2 separate regions of the Homo sapiens genome follow, and region 1 is linked to region 2. Evidence: promoter capture Hi-C in human tissues and cell types (Jung and others, 2019). All regions are on one chromosome and are shown on one strand. Each heading gives the region's core, a stretch centred on a gene start or on the middle of the fragment in contact. The rest is flanking DNA. Distances are from core to core; before and after follow the strand shown. Region 1 overlaps UNC5C (unc-5 netrin receptor C). Region 2 holds the start of UNC5C (unc-5 netrin receptor C).

What was found. The method cuts DNA at HindIII sites, captures the fragments that hold promoters and counts their contacts. A contact is called where the count stands out against the background at its distance.
Region 1: a contact is called between a fragment that was not itself captured here and the fragment with the promoter of UNC5C in region 2, in 1 of the 25 tissues and cell types used here (hippocampus).

Annotation. Positions count from the first base shown.
Region 1 is chr4:95,499,422-95,507,058 of GRCh38, forward strand. The region is part of intron 1 of UNC5C (unc-5 netrin receptor C); the gene reads right to left. Among named protein-coding and RNA genes, the nearest start is that of UNC5C, 46 kb to the right of the region's middle. The HindIII fragment of the contact is 4,063 bases long and covers 1,042-5,104 here.
Region 2 is chr4:95,546,240-95,553,246 of GRCh38, forward strand. It overlaps UNC5C (unc-5 netrin receptor C), which reads right to left and starts at 2,734. Exons shown (of 16, transcript NM_003728.4): 1 at 2,495-2,734. The coding sequence starts at 2,618. It overlaps UNC5C-AS1 (UNC5C antisense RNA 1), which reads left to right and starts at 2,909. Exons shown (of 5, transcript NR_183914.1): 1 at 2,909-2,992. RefSeq lists an enhancer at 3,176-3,305. The HindIII fragment of the contact is 1,524 bases long and covers 1,838-3,361 here.

The DNA.
Region 1 (7,637 bases), core at 1,823-4,322, 46 kb before region 2:
ATCCAAGCAGCCTTTGCCTCTGTGGGAAACCCCAGTGATATTCTGGGAGAAGTGGCAAGGGCAGGTAGCATGACCATTCTCTTCTCTGGAAATCTCACTCCCATGCACTTTTCATGCAATCAATCATGAAGAAAAGGTCAACAGACAGCTTTCAAATAATGGATTTACTTACCTACTGACACTGATCTGGCGAGAGAAGTGAAGTTGTGGGGAGAAAAAGGGAGGAGCACAGGAGTCAATTACAGGAAACCTAAACCCCTTCAGTCTTCCAGGGAGACCAAACACACTCCAGTAAGCTCCCTCCCCTTGATCACAGGTATCTGCCAAAGCTATTAAGGTAAGTTTACATTGATGTCCGGTTAGAAGTTGGAGGTATGTATGTGCACATATATAAGATGGGAGCACTGGGGAGGAAAAGATAGATATTAAAGAACTGTCATTCACTGTGGAAATTAACAAAAAAGGATAGGCTGTGTTTCAGGGAGGTTAACTGTCTATACATCCTAGGCCATTCAGTGCAGATTTAAATTTCAGGAAACAGTAGGCACATGAGGATAATCCCTCCATCCTTGGAAGACTTAATACACCTTTAGTGTCTGACTCAATAGTAGATGAACTAAAGGTAGTTTGACCAGTAAAACCAATTGACATGGAAACTTAATATAAATGATAAAAACGTAGGAGTTTTGTTTTGGGATCAGCCAGTCCTATAACACCCAGTTCACAGAAGTGCTGCAGGATTTTCTTTTTAATATTAATAGAACATAAATATTATTTCCATTTTGGTTTCATTCTTAGCACCTTATCATGCCACAACGAATAAATAGTTAGATGGTCTCCAGTTTTGAAGGAGTTTAAAGTCCTACAAACCTTATTCTACCCATTTGGTTTCTTGCCAGACAATAAATTCCATGAGAACAGGGACTATAGAAGTGTTTTGCTCAATATGATGGCCCTTGTGCTTATACAACAATGTCTGGCCATATTAAGTTCTAAAAAAAACAAGCTAGTTATAAAAAATGGATGAGTTCCCAAAAAACTCTGCCTGCTAGAGCCACATTAATAAGTTTTTTCCTAACCTTTCTAAACATTGGTCATGTTTATATGGATTACTTTTGTTTTGGCATCGAAATAATAAAATCAGCACCCTTGATCCAAGGTTCCTCAGCTGCATAAACAACAACTTGCTCTTATTTTGATTAAGGAGAGCTATTATATGTTCTTCCTCAAGCTATTAGTCTACTAGGAACATGTTGTAATTTATAAGGCCTATCAAAACTTTCCTTTTACTAAAATGAATAGAAAATTAATGCAGCCAGGCAGAAAGCTCTGTTAGCTAATAGTTTTTAGCATTTTCTCCTTTGAGATGCTAGAGAGCAATTTTCATTTACTGGTTATTTAAGGAAGAAAAATTCAGTCCCACTGATATCACCTTGATTGGGTTTATGTACAAATACCGTATATTTTTTCCCTTGGGCATATCATGTGCTATTACATGGAAAAGAAATGTTACAACTTTCTAACATCAATAGCTATTTTAGATACTACTGCATGATCATTAGTCGAAAAACTCTTAGAATAATACTACTCCCTGTGTGTTAATAAATATTTGTAGAATTTAGGTAATTTGGGGTGGAATTAAAACACCAAACTCATAAGCACTGAAAGAGATGGAATTCTACTTCTGCATTAAAATACAGGTACAAATTAATGTTCTTACTTAAGTTCTTGGAAGGTGCTTTATAGACGCAATAAATACATGATAGTACAATTAGGTTTTGCTTTTTAATGACATATAAGCAGCTAGCCCTCTGTTCAGTGTGGGCTTGTGTTCTTTAAAAGAACTAGCTAGAGGCATTTTTTTTATTGGCTCAGAATTCTGAAAACTAGACTATAATTTAGGGCTTTTTTGGTCAGCAACAAGTATCAATCATTCCACAAATACAGTATTTACACATAATTTTGCTATTTAATTAAGAGAAGTTAAAAGAAGTTTGCTTTTTAAGGAGGCTAACAATGTCCATTTGCAACATATTTTTTGTTACTAATTAGCTTAACAAAACTTTTCATAGGGCAAAGGTCATTTTCAACCTAACAAATATGAATATTGTTACATGCTAATGAGTGCAGAAATCTCCATCACTATTGTTAAATTAATAAATTATTTGGCTCCTCTTATTACATGTGTATGGATTAGATGCTGAAATACAATAATTTTGAAGTAAAGTGGTTTTAAAAATAATAAACTATAGCTTGTGAAAGTATTATAAAGGCAAATCAGAGAATCCAGGAACACATATAAACCCAAGGATTCTTTTGTCTGTTATAGTTCTTTTTTCAGGATTCAGTTTTGAGGGAGTTTTGAATTTCACGTCTGATGCTACCTTTGAAAATATTCTTACAGTGATGAATGACCTCTTTCATGTAAAACAGTTTTTGAAAAATATATACATATATTTACCAAAGCTTCCTTCCTCTTATGTTGGAAATATTTATTTTTTGATTGGAAGCCTGTGGTGATTCAGCCACAGCAGAAGAAGAGAGGACTTTTCTTTTCCCTTAGTGTTATGTTGACAAATCAGCCTCTGAAGAAGTGACCACTGTTTTATTTCTTCTAAAAGTATGGCCCATTAGTTGAGGAATGTTTAAAATTCGTATCATGGTGCTGTGTTCTTACTTCATTACTAGTTTTGACAAAAGTAAAGGAGCATTTACAGTTGGTCTTTTAATGACGAACATGTTACTTCCAGTGTGATTGGTTGCAACAATGGATTATGACTGGCCCCCAATCACCTTGTAAAAACTGGATTAGAAACTTTATTAGAAATGTAACAGAAAATAATTATCATATAAACTTTTTTTTAAAGAGGCAGGGTCTTGCTCTGTTGCCCAGGCTGCCTGCAGTAGTGCAATCATAGCTCTCTGCCGCCTTGAACTCCTGGGTTCAATCGATCCTCCCCTTTCGGCCTCCCAAGCAGCTGGGACAACAGTTGCACACCACCATGCCCAGCTTATTTTTAAAATTCTTTTGGTAGAGATGTGGTCTTGCTTTGTTGCCCAGACTGGTCTTTAAACTCCTGGCTTCAAGCCGGCCTCCAGCCTCAGCCTCCCAAAGTGTTGAGATTATAGGGGTGTGCTCGGCCAACATTTTTTGACTTATATGGACAAACATTTTGTGCTAGACTTACATTTAATCTGAGCAGTTACACGACAATGCATATAATGCTCAGCACAGGCTTGACACACACGTGGAAAGCACTCAGTACATGTCAGTTACCATTTTCATTATTACTAAAAATGAAAATAGACAGTTTTATTGTATGAAAATCTTAATAAAATTGTTCCCTGTAACTTCCTCTTAGGGAAAAGCACAGATTTAAGTTCAGGTTATATTGAATATTATAGTGGTATTAACTATTACCATAATCTTTAAAATTTCTCTCCCGCAAAGAATCGCACAGATATCACATCCAAGATTATTCAAATGATGTTATCCTGGACTCTGACTAACCTTACATTTGCTCTTTGTCCATTACAAAATTTACTCTTTTAACTTTTATTTATATTCACTAAGTGTATTCCATATCTTAACTTCCTATTCAGTGAAAAAGTTTGGTTCATATGTGCTATGGCTTGAATGTGTCTCCCAAAATTCATGTGTTGGAAACTTGATCCCCTATATAACAGTATTGACAGGTGGTCTTTTAAGAGGTGATTAGATCATGTAGGCTCAGCCTTCATCAATGAATTATTGTTGTTACTCTAGAGTGGGTTTGTTACAAAAGAGAGGCCCCTTCTTGGTTTCTCTCTCATGTCCTTTCTCACCCTCTCCCCTTTCACCATGGAATAACACAGCAAGAAGGCCCTAGAAAGTTGCCGGTACCTTAATATTGAACTTCCCACCCTTCAGAACTGTGAACTTTTTTTCTTTTTAAATTGGCCAGTCTGTGGTATTCTGTTATAGCAACACAAAATGAACTAAGACAATATGTCACCCATTTTCTTCAAGTTTGTAATTATTGGACAATACATCTCTTCTTTTGTAACATTAATAAGTTGGCTTTTATTTTGATTTGTAATTGTAATTTATTGTCTATTAGAGAGTCATTTGACATAATTTTCTAATGCAACAAATTCAGTTCCTTTTTTCTAATATCATCTGGCTGCCATCAGGACACAAACCTTCTGAAAGAATAGATGTCAAATAAAATAAACCCTTTAGCAACTTTATTAAAAGATGCTAAAATAATAGAATAATCAACATGCTTTATGTACTTTTTATTATATTTCTGTCCTTTTACTTGAAGAATATTCAAAACCATTTAGCCAACTCTTTAAGAAAAGCATAAAATAGCATGGCCCCTCATCACTCCTCCAAATTCCTCATTGTTGGCTGTCAGTTAAGACCGCTTCCATCTGCTCCCCCACCATTTCACTTATATTCAGTGAAAATTTTTCACTTGTATCCTTGATATAACAAAACAAATTCTAGTTTCAGAATTCTATGGCATTTTCTTCTCTTTCACCACAGTCCCTAATTATCAGTTCACATCAGTCCAAGAGGAATTTCAAATTTATGTCATTAATCAATCACCACTATGTAATATCACTAAGAATCCTAAACACTTATTTCCTACAGTTTTGTAATGCATGATTTTATCTTAACTCCACATATGTTAGCAGTAAAACATGACTCCTATTCTTGAAGTCCCACCGACATTTTCTATGAAATAATGAACATTCAGTGGATGGTAATATAAGATGGCACTTCCTGGTCCTCCAGTTTTTGGCAAATGTATTTCATTTTTCTTTGTCTTTGAACACTTAGGGCTTCTGCCTCTTACTTACTGCAAACAGCACTCCCCTCTGAACAAGCTTACCCACCGCTCAGTTCTAAATACAGCAAAAAAGCAAACAGCACTTTTAGCATTTCTTTAACTTTCTGTCTTCAAATTCCTAGTTGTCCATTTGGGGCAACTATCATTTCCTCTTGACCCAAGTCTGTGGCAGATACATGTAAAGAACATATATATGTGTTATATGAATCACATCTTTGTAAACTAAACTTCTCAATAGCACTCTTGAAAAAGCTAGCATAAATTATAATCATGATCAAGGTACTGAATAATTCAGGGGGTATTTCATTACGGATTTTGTCTATTATTTAAAGGCAAGGAGAAAATTCTTTTAAATTGGAGAAAAACACACGTCACTTCAGGTCTACAAATATAGTAACAAAATTGAGCTGTGGTTTCAAAAAAATGCTGACACATTATAACAAGGCACGAAAAATTAACCTTTGTGCCAAAATCAAATTAACAGCTCTTTAAAAAGCTTTTGCAAAGATATTACATATGCATATATGTGTGCATACCCTCATTAATATGAATCATCAACTAATGTCTTTGCCCTATGATGTCATTCATTGCAGTTTAAATTTGGGGGTGGTCTGTTTTATAGTTTTTATGATCTTATGATATTAATTTTTATTTTTTATACAATTGCTTTCATTAAAAAACTTCTATATTTTTAAGGTGTTCAAATGCAACCCATCTAAAATAAGAGACTTACGCTTATTTACCCAAGTATTCCAATAATCTCTTACTAAATAAAAATGACAACGCTATATATGACAGGGGCTCAAAGAGAAAAATCAACAAATATTCACTTCTTAATTTCAGAATTTTGCTCCCTGCTTTAACTGGTCCGTTATCAGAATTTGATTCTAATTATTCATTGGCAAGGAACAATTTATTGATTAAGAACAGTAGCAAATGAACAACTTACGGCCTCCAAAGTGTAACCACCCTGGTACAGGTCAATAGAACTAGGCAAACAAGAGGCCAATTCAAGAGTTCCTGTCCAATTTCCTTCCACAGCCAGGTCTTTATGAGCGAGCAGTCATGGAAAAGATCCTAGAAAAATAAACTGTGGAAACATTTCAGCAACTTAATTGAGATTTTGCAAGGCTCTCAAAGCCTGCATTGTTATAACCCACTCTCATCAAAGACCATGATTCAGCTTTAGAAATGGAGCTATTCAAACCCTGCTGTATTAGCCATATATCTTAGGAATTTACTTCCTAATTATGCAGTATGCCTTATAAACACTTTTTTTGGTTCTGTCATTGGGTGACATAATATTTTAAGCAACTAAAGCGAATTGGTCTGATCATTATTTTGAAAAGTTCTTCCTCAACACTTGTCAGATTTAGATTATGAAGCACATTGCATTTTTGTTCTAGAAACTTTCATGCTCTCCATAAGAATTTATCACTTGCTTCACTACTGGGGGAAAATATGTGTCAATATAGCCTTATATCTAACTGTAAAACTGCTGGGACTGTCAATTTTTAAATACAGGAGATGTTGAAAAGGCAAACACCATAGTTTCTGAAAGAAATGAGAATCTGTCTTCTAGAAAGAGTAGGAGTAAGGTCACAACTCTGATTTATCTTGTCTTTGAGGAAGACCAAGAGTAGATACAAAGAATACAAGACTGAACTCATTTCAAGGGTAAAGAGTAACTCTAAAGGGTTTTTTTTATTGAAAGTGCTACCAGAAGACTAGAAAATATGCTGACATGTGCCTTTTCTCTTAGTATCTGGAAAAAAGAAAAGGATGAGAAAACATGTTTTTTAAAATTTACATCATCCATCTGATTTTTATTTTCATTATGAAATCTCAATTTTCATCTTAATCTTAACAGGTGGGGCCATTTATTTTTATTACTTTCTCAGGAAATGTAGATAAAAGTAGACAAGATTCTATATATCATATAAGAATAATCAAAAGTAAATTGGAAGTAAAATCACAAAGTTGTTGCAGAATATTCAACTCTGCGGCAACCAGTTCAGGGCAATAGTGCTATGACAGTATTTGTATTTAGGATGTTGCTTTCTTATCTGCCTCAGATGAGTAATTATCATAAATTACCACATTTGACTGATGCCCAATAGCACAGCACATTCCAGTCAAAATATGTCACCAAACCACCAACACTGCATGATGGTTTTTGGCTCTAGGTGATAGTGATGTTAAGCATAATACTCGGTAGTAATTTATCCTGTCACTCACATATTTAAAAGTTGCTATTTTGAATGGTCTTTGATGTAATAATATATGACGTGTTACTTTACATTTTTAAAAAAGTCGTCATGTTGAGTAAGGCTAATTTTTACAGAGGCGGGGAAGAAAACCCTAGCAAAATGGCTATGTAGTCAGCCCAGACAGATGGTAAATCTGGGAAAAATTAATCAGTAACAACCTTAGCAATCTGGGGTTGTTAAATAGCTGTACTGCATTAAGAAAACTAATAAATACTTTCATATATATACACACAATATGGTGATAATAATATATATATTATATGCCAATGATAATATCCAGGATACATCTGATTTTCTTTCACTATTACTCTCTTCTAATGCCTTCACTTTTTGATGTTGAGGGTACATTTGATTTTAAGGGTTATTTATATTAATAAATGTAAGTAAGATATTAATAAATATTATACATGCAAGGTATAATACAAATAACAAATAATAAATAGTATGTGCATATACACAGAAACACACATATACACTAAATGACTAGAAATTGCACTTAAATCACCTGAAAATCATTACAATTTTAGAA
Region 2 (7,007 bases), core at 1,484-3,983:
ATGGGCTAGTGTTCTAGTCCAAGGAAAGGAGAAAGAAGAAGAATAAGAAGGAAAAGGAGGTCTGACTATCAGACCATTTATAAAATGTGTGATTCTGCAAGGAAAGTGTTAACGGTGGCTCAAGATAAACAGGCTGGGTTACTGTACTGCAGTGATGAAGGTAGTAGCTGATAGTGGAGTTTGGTGCTTTATCCTTCCTTTGATAACTAACAGACAACACAGGAAGAGCTGCTATCCCTGGAACATGGAGGATAACAAAGATAAAAGCGGTGGAATAGTGCATTTTACAGACCATGAGATTCAAACAAAAATTTTACTAATCAAAAACTGAAGGAACTAAATAAACGAAATGGACAAGAACTGCAGTGAAATGCATACACCCAACGGAGTACATTTTCTTTTTCCACTTAAGATGAGAATCAGTCCCCAATCTTTAACTTGCCTACGCTACAAAAAGTGCAAGAGAAAAAGTCTATCCTAAGCATCTTTTCTTTTTAATCTCTTCTCCCTTCTTCTTTCAATATTAATCCATTTACAATCTGCTGTTTGATTATCTTTATTGATCCTTTTTCTACCCAGTCTTTTTAATTTGGTTATTGTAAGCTCTTAGCAGGAATCCTATCTCTTGTTTGGCATCTTTGGGGACTTTAACTTGTCTTTTTCCCAAACAGTTCTCTCACCGTGCCCCGTCCCCCTCTCCCGCCACCCACCCCCATGGCTCAGTCCTTTGTATGCCCAGTAACAGCAGGCGAATTCCACAGGGAGTCGCGCGGTTGATTCCACGACTATTCATAAGGTTGTTCACTTAAGCTTCCAAACACCCCCCTCTAAGCACCCTTGGCTAGCGCCCTGAGAACTTCTTATCAATTTTAGGAAATCCACAAGCTATGATTCTCGGTGGAGATTCCTTTTTAAATAGACAGACAGATGAACTCTGGAGGTGTGCATAAGAAAACCAGAGCAGAACCTCAGGGATGGGAGGCATCTGGCGAGAAAGGAAGGAAGGATTTATGAGCAGGGCCACTTAGCAGGGCAGCAGGAAAATTTACTTCCGAAGAAGCTATCGCTAATTCACAAAGCCTTGCTAATCACTTACCTCTCCACCCAGACCGCACTCCTATGCTAGGCGCTCTCCTCCGCTTCCAACACCCCCATCCCCACCCCCAGCGCCTCTCTAAGATCAGAGGGAATGCTGTCCGGAAACCCTAGGGTGTCTGAACATCACCTGGGGAGTTGGGGCTATCGTAAAGCCTCCCTTTACTCTCCAAATTTGGAAGGAAGAGTAACCGAGAGTGAAGGGAGAATCCCTGAATTGCCTCTGAATGCTGCATAAGCTTCCTTCATTCTCTCCTCTTCCAGGAAAAGCTGAGCTGCCTCGCCTGAGCCGGCTATCACCACTGAAGTGGGCTAAGAGACCCAAGTAGGAGCTGGGCTTGGCCAGAAGTTTTGGGGCCCAGGTGACCTGAAAGAGACCCCGGAGGGGACAGCCTTGGCTCTTTCTTCTGCGCTCCCTTCCAGTCAGCTTTCCCGGCTTTGAAGGCTGGGAGCTGCTGCTAACACTTCAAACTAGGCGGACAAGAAGGGAGCCGGGCGATCAGCTCCGGAGCCTCCCCTCCTCCCTTACCCATCCCCAACTCCCGGCCACACTCTTCCCAACCCGGCTTCGCCCAGGGCCCCGGTCACTTATGTTAAAGTTCACAGGCGTTAAATTAAAATGTCAGAGTTATAAACTGGTCGACTACCCCGGGGAGTTTCGGATTTGGTTTGAACAAGCAGCCGGTTCCCCCAGAGCTCCGGGATTTTCATTTCTACATCCCCTGGTGGGAAGCAGGCATGAAGCGGGGTATGTATGAGTGCAGAGGCATGCACATCCCGGGCCTGCCTCCAGCCGGGTACGCGGATTCGGGTGAGCTGTGTATTTCCACAGCACCTGAAGCAGCAGGCGAGGGGGACGGGTGCTTTTGAGTCCTTGACAGTAATGGACACATTTCCTTAGCTGAGCGCCCTTCGGGGTCTAGTGTGCTCAGAGACTCAGTGAAGATCCTGCTACCCCAGTCTTGGCACAGCGCGGGGAGCCTCTGCGCATCATGCGCTTCGGGGTGCATCTACGGTATGTCACACAGCCACCCGCACCGAGAGTCTTTCCAAACCTCCGTGTGTGCAATATGCAACAACGTGCGCGTGCGGAGCTGAAAGGGCACAAGACACTCCAGGCTCCCACACGTATGGAGACGGATCGGCTGCGTGTCCACACCCCGTTCGTCCCTGGTCCATTCGTGCCCATCTCAGAAGATAGATTAAACATAATAATAATAATAATTATTATTATTATAATCAAAGCTTCTTGACTAGTTGGGAAAGTGGAATTTAGAGTGGTTTCCAGTTGAAAGCAACGAGGCAAATTGAGGAAGTCAAGAGAACTGGGGAGGAGGAGAGGAAGGAGGGAAGGAAGAAGCTAAGGGAGGTGGCCGCGGAGCTTGGCGGACCCCCTTACCTTGGGCGGCGGAGCCAGTGCCGCTGGCGCTGAGCAGGGCCAGGGCAGGTAGCACGAGCATTTGCAGCAAGTATCCCAGTCCCAGTCCGCAGCGGGCCGCTGTCGCCCGCAGACCTTTCCTCATCGTAGACAGAGGTGTGCCGGGGGGAGGGGAGGGGGACAGAGAGACGCGCAAACAGCTGAAAGCCCCACTGGGCAGAAGCTGAATCCGTGCACCGCGAAGCAGTCCGAAGAAATAACGACAACCAAGCGCCACACTCCACTTTCTCCAAAGGCAGGGGCCAAAAGGGGGAGGAGAGGAGACGCCGAGGAGGAGTTTGAAGGTCCCTCTTTCCCAATGCCTTCTAACTGACGTCTCCCGCGAGCGACTGCTCTGCCCCCACTTGGGAAGTCCAGGGAGGCGCAAGGCGGCCACCTCCGCCGCTCCCCCCAGCAGCAGGAGCAGCCGCAGCTCCGCCGCACGCCGAAGTCTGGACTGCTCTCCGGGTCCCCTCGCCTGTGAGGAACACACACAGACACCGGGGGTGGGGGTGGGGGTGGGGGTTGAAGTGGGGGGAGTTGGAGGAGGAGGGAACGGAGGGAGGAAGCTTGGGCACCGTCAGGCGCTCTGGTCTCCAATCTCAGTGTTCTCACGCCGGCGGAGAGATGTCCCGGCTGTCGCTGCTGGGTGGCCAAGGAGGTTCACATCCTAGAGTAGGGCGCACGGGTGCGCGAAGGCGCTCGCCAAGGAGGCGTAGAGGGCGCAGCACAACTCCTCTGGGGGGTAACCGGGGGCGGGAGCACGCCCGCCCGCCTTATGTAAGCAAGGATTGCAGGGAGATCAGCGCCCAGGAGACCAGCTGTGGGTTTGCCCGCTGAAGCCGAGGCGAGACAGACCAGGGGACGAAGCGGCTGCGGAGAGTGGCAGCGCGCCTGCCTCCCGCGGTGCGCCAGACCTGGACGCCGGGAGTGCAGCGGGCGCGCCCCGGGCCACTAGGCTGTGTCCAGTGGAGCTCAGCCTGCCGCCTGCCACCTTCTTCGCCGCGCCGGCAAAGCCTCAGCCGAATTCCCTAGGACTGGACTCGGTCTACGACTTCGGGTCTCGCGGTTGACGAAGCCGGTGCGGGCTCGAACTGAAGTCCTTCTTGGTTGGGGAAGAAGGCATGAAGCTTTTGCACTGCCCCAGCCGGCTGCTGTCCTGGGGTTGTCAGCGCCAGTCAGACTGCTTTATGTTCTGAGCGCGTATGACCCCTTTGCAGTGGAACAGAAACTAAAAGCTCGACGGAAACTCATTCTGCAACAGTGCTTTCTTTGCGTGCATGTTGGTGGCTGACAAGGGTGGTGATGCGATACCGAGAGAAACTCTCTTAGAAAAAAAAAATGCAAAGCAAAATTTGTAGATACTCAAAGTGATGGTGGAGCCTATAACATGTTTTTCAAATTTCTAATAGTGTGTGTAAGAACTCGAGCTGCTATGAATTTGTTTACCTTTCTACAGGAAATAATTGTCTACGTAGCTGGGTTGTGAATCCCTGTGGTCATGATGGAGGGATGCAAGATTGGGTGGGTAAAATAAGACTAGACAAAAGGAAAGTGAATTTATTAAAAGGTCAACACACAGACACAGACAACATTTTGGGAAAAAGAAAATCACTTCCCAAGATTAGCATGTCTTTAAACTAATAATACATCAGGGAATTTTATGCTCTTGGTGCCAAGGGGGCCATGTGTAAACACGCATGCACACACACACGCAGGAAACATGAGGTCTAATTTTGGCTGTGGTCATAACTACTCTGTTACCCTGGGTAAGTCAGGTAACCTGTGAATGTCTCAGTTTCTTCATTTGTGAAATATTTTGATAGTTTCAAAGTTCTCTTAAGTTCTAACATTCTATGATTCTGCCTGCACAGCCCCATCTAGGCAATAAGACCTATCTCGGATGAATCAGGGAGATCCGAAAAGGTAGTATTTGCCAAAGACATTGACAAAACTGGCCACTTCTTATTTCTGTGGAGACTCTGTCCACCACACAAAACCCTTCTTCACTCTCTTCATCTTCTCCATACCAAGACATCAAGATATTTGACAACAGGGTGGGTGCTGGCACCAGACTGTCTGCCTTCAGTTCTTAGCATTTCTTATTACTTGACTGATATTGAACATTAAAGCTAGGTGCCTCTCTTCCCTAATTTGTAAGATGGGTCTAGTAACAGGAACTATCTCATAGGGTTATTTGAGGATTATGTAAGTTAAACATATGTAAAATGCCTGACGCCAAAATTGTAAACTGCTGTTCTTACCATTGATGAAAAATTCCCATTAGCCTCATGCTATCTACACCAGTGCTGTTCAGCAGAAATTTCTGCAATGAAGAACATGTTCATATCTGTACTTTCTGAGGTCGTAGTTATGAGATACATGTGGCTACTTGCATGCAATGTGGCTAGTGTGAATTGGAAATTTTTATTTAATTTTAATTTAAATAGTCACATGTGGCCAGCAGCTACCATATTTTATGGTGTATCGAGGCCACTAATAACTTGTCAAGTATTTTGAGAATGACTTCACAAGGGATTATTATTATACTTTATATTTATATGTACAATTTTACTAAGAAGGACAACAGCTTAAGTACTAAGAAATCTCCACACATACTCACCATCACATCAACGACATCCAAAAGTTATTTATTTACAATTTTATTGCCTGTCTTCTTAAATTAGAATTTAACTCTTTTAAGACAGAGATTTTGCCTTTGTTCATTATTTCAACCACAGCTCCTAAACTGAGCCTGATATATAGTTGGTACTCAATCAATATTGACTGATTTCCTGCCAAAAAAGCTCAATGGGGAAGACTCCTCAAAGTCTAGGACAGCTAAAGAAGGTTGAAATTGTCGCCTACTCCTGTTTGGGGTATTGAGGTACTCAGTGACAGATACCACATGCAATTAGTTCCTTAAAATAAAGAATACGAGATTAAAAGAGGAAATGTAGTTAAATACTGAAATTCAGCCTAAAGATGGCAGGAGAATGGTTTGAGAAGTGGTATAGAGTAATGAGGTGGAAAAGGGGGAAGAGAGTGAGAGCACCACACAAAGGACAGGAAAAACACCAGCAATACATCAGCTTTACACAGCAGGCAAGTTTCCTGCTCTCTACAAGTACAGATGGAACTTGTCTTGTGAATTAACATCCTGACTACTTTTGTTGATCATCACATTTTTTCCTCATGAGAGAAATAATAGTGTTTTATAGGCTCCTGAGAATAGGTTTACTAAAGTCATCGAGATCTGGGTTCAAATGACACTGCTTAGGGAGGCATTCACTGATCAAGTTACCTAAAATAGCAACAATCTATCATCCAAAATATCATTTGCCAGCTTTGATTTTGCATATAACACTTACTTTATATATGTACATATATGTGTATATATATATTTGTGTGTGTGTGTGTGTATACATGTATATATATATGCAGTCTGCAATAAAATGTATGCTTCTCAGGGGAGAAATTTTTTTCTAATACATTCAGTGCTCTATACCCAGAACCTGGAACAATACCTTGTACATAATAGGTGATCAATAAATACTTACTGAATATTGAATGGATTGAATCAGAACCAATGGATTTAAAATTGAGCTAAGTCCTTCATTAAACCTTCTTCCTCTCCTCTTCAGCCTCTCAAGTTATCAAATTATGAGTAGGCTTTTCTAGTTGTTGAATAAAATCAAGTTTTGCCAAATTTTCACCAAAAATTTATTGGAATTTGACTTTTTAGGGTTGGAATACTGCAGGTGTTTAAGGAACAGACAGGAAATTCATCTCATCTTGAAAAATGAAAAGCTTCATTTAAATCCATATACAAGGGCTTTCTTTTTCTTGGCTGCAGTGAGTGGAGAATTAACTCTAGGATAATAAATCCCAGTGACAGGTGCTAATGGGAATTAAGCATGCAAATCCCCTGCATATCCCTCCAGAAATCTACACCAAGAAAAGTATGCTATTTAGCATGTAGGCTGCTTCATAATAATATCATTTACTCGGAACTAGTACTGAAAAAGTTTCCAGTTTAAAGCTTAAATCAAAAACAATTGATCATATATTTTAATTATGGAAATATTTTCTTTCATTGTATCTCTCTCCTTATATGTTTGATTCCTCACTTTTTATATTTTTTGTGTAGGTTTAAAAATAAATCTTCATACCAGGGATATTATTAACTGCATTAACTGGCAACATAGGAGAAAGAGGATTTTAGTGAATAAATAGGATGGTGATGAGGAAAACTCCTTTCCTACAAGTTGGGAGTTCAGAGACCTCACATAATGTTACTGATAGACATCAACGAAGGAGAGCCAGATGGTCTAGATTCAGTTGATTCAATCCTCCTTCCCTGCCTTAGCCCAGAGAAAGAGATTTAACTTGTCATAAACCAAAACTCTCTAGGGCTTTCTGCTTTTTATTAATTCTATTAGATAAGACCCATTTGGTTGCAAGTGAAAGAAACCCAACTCGAACCAGCTTAAGC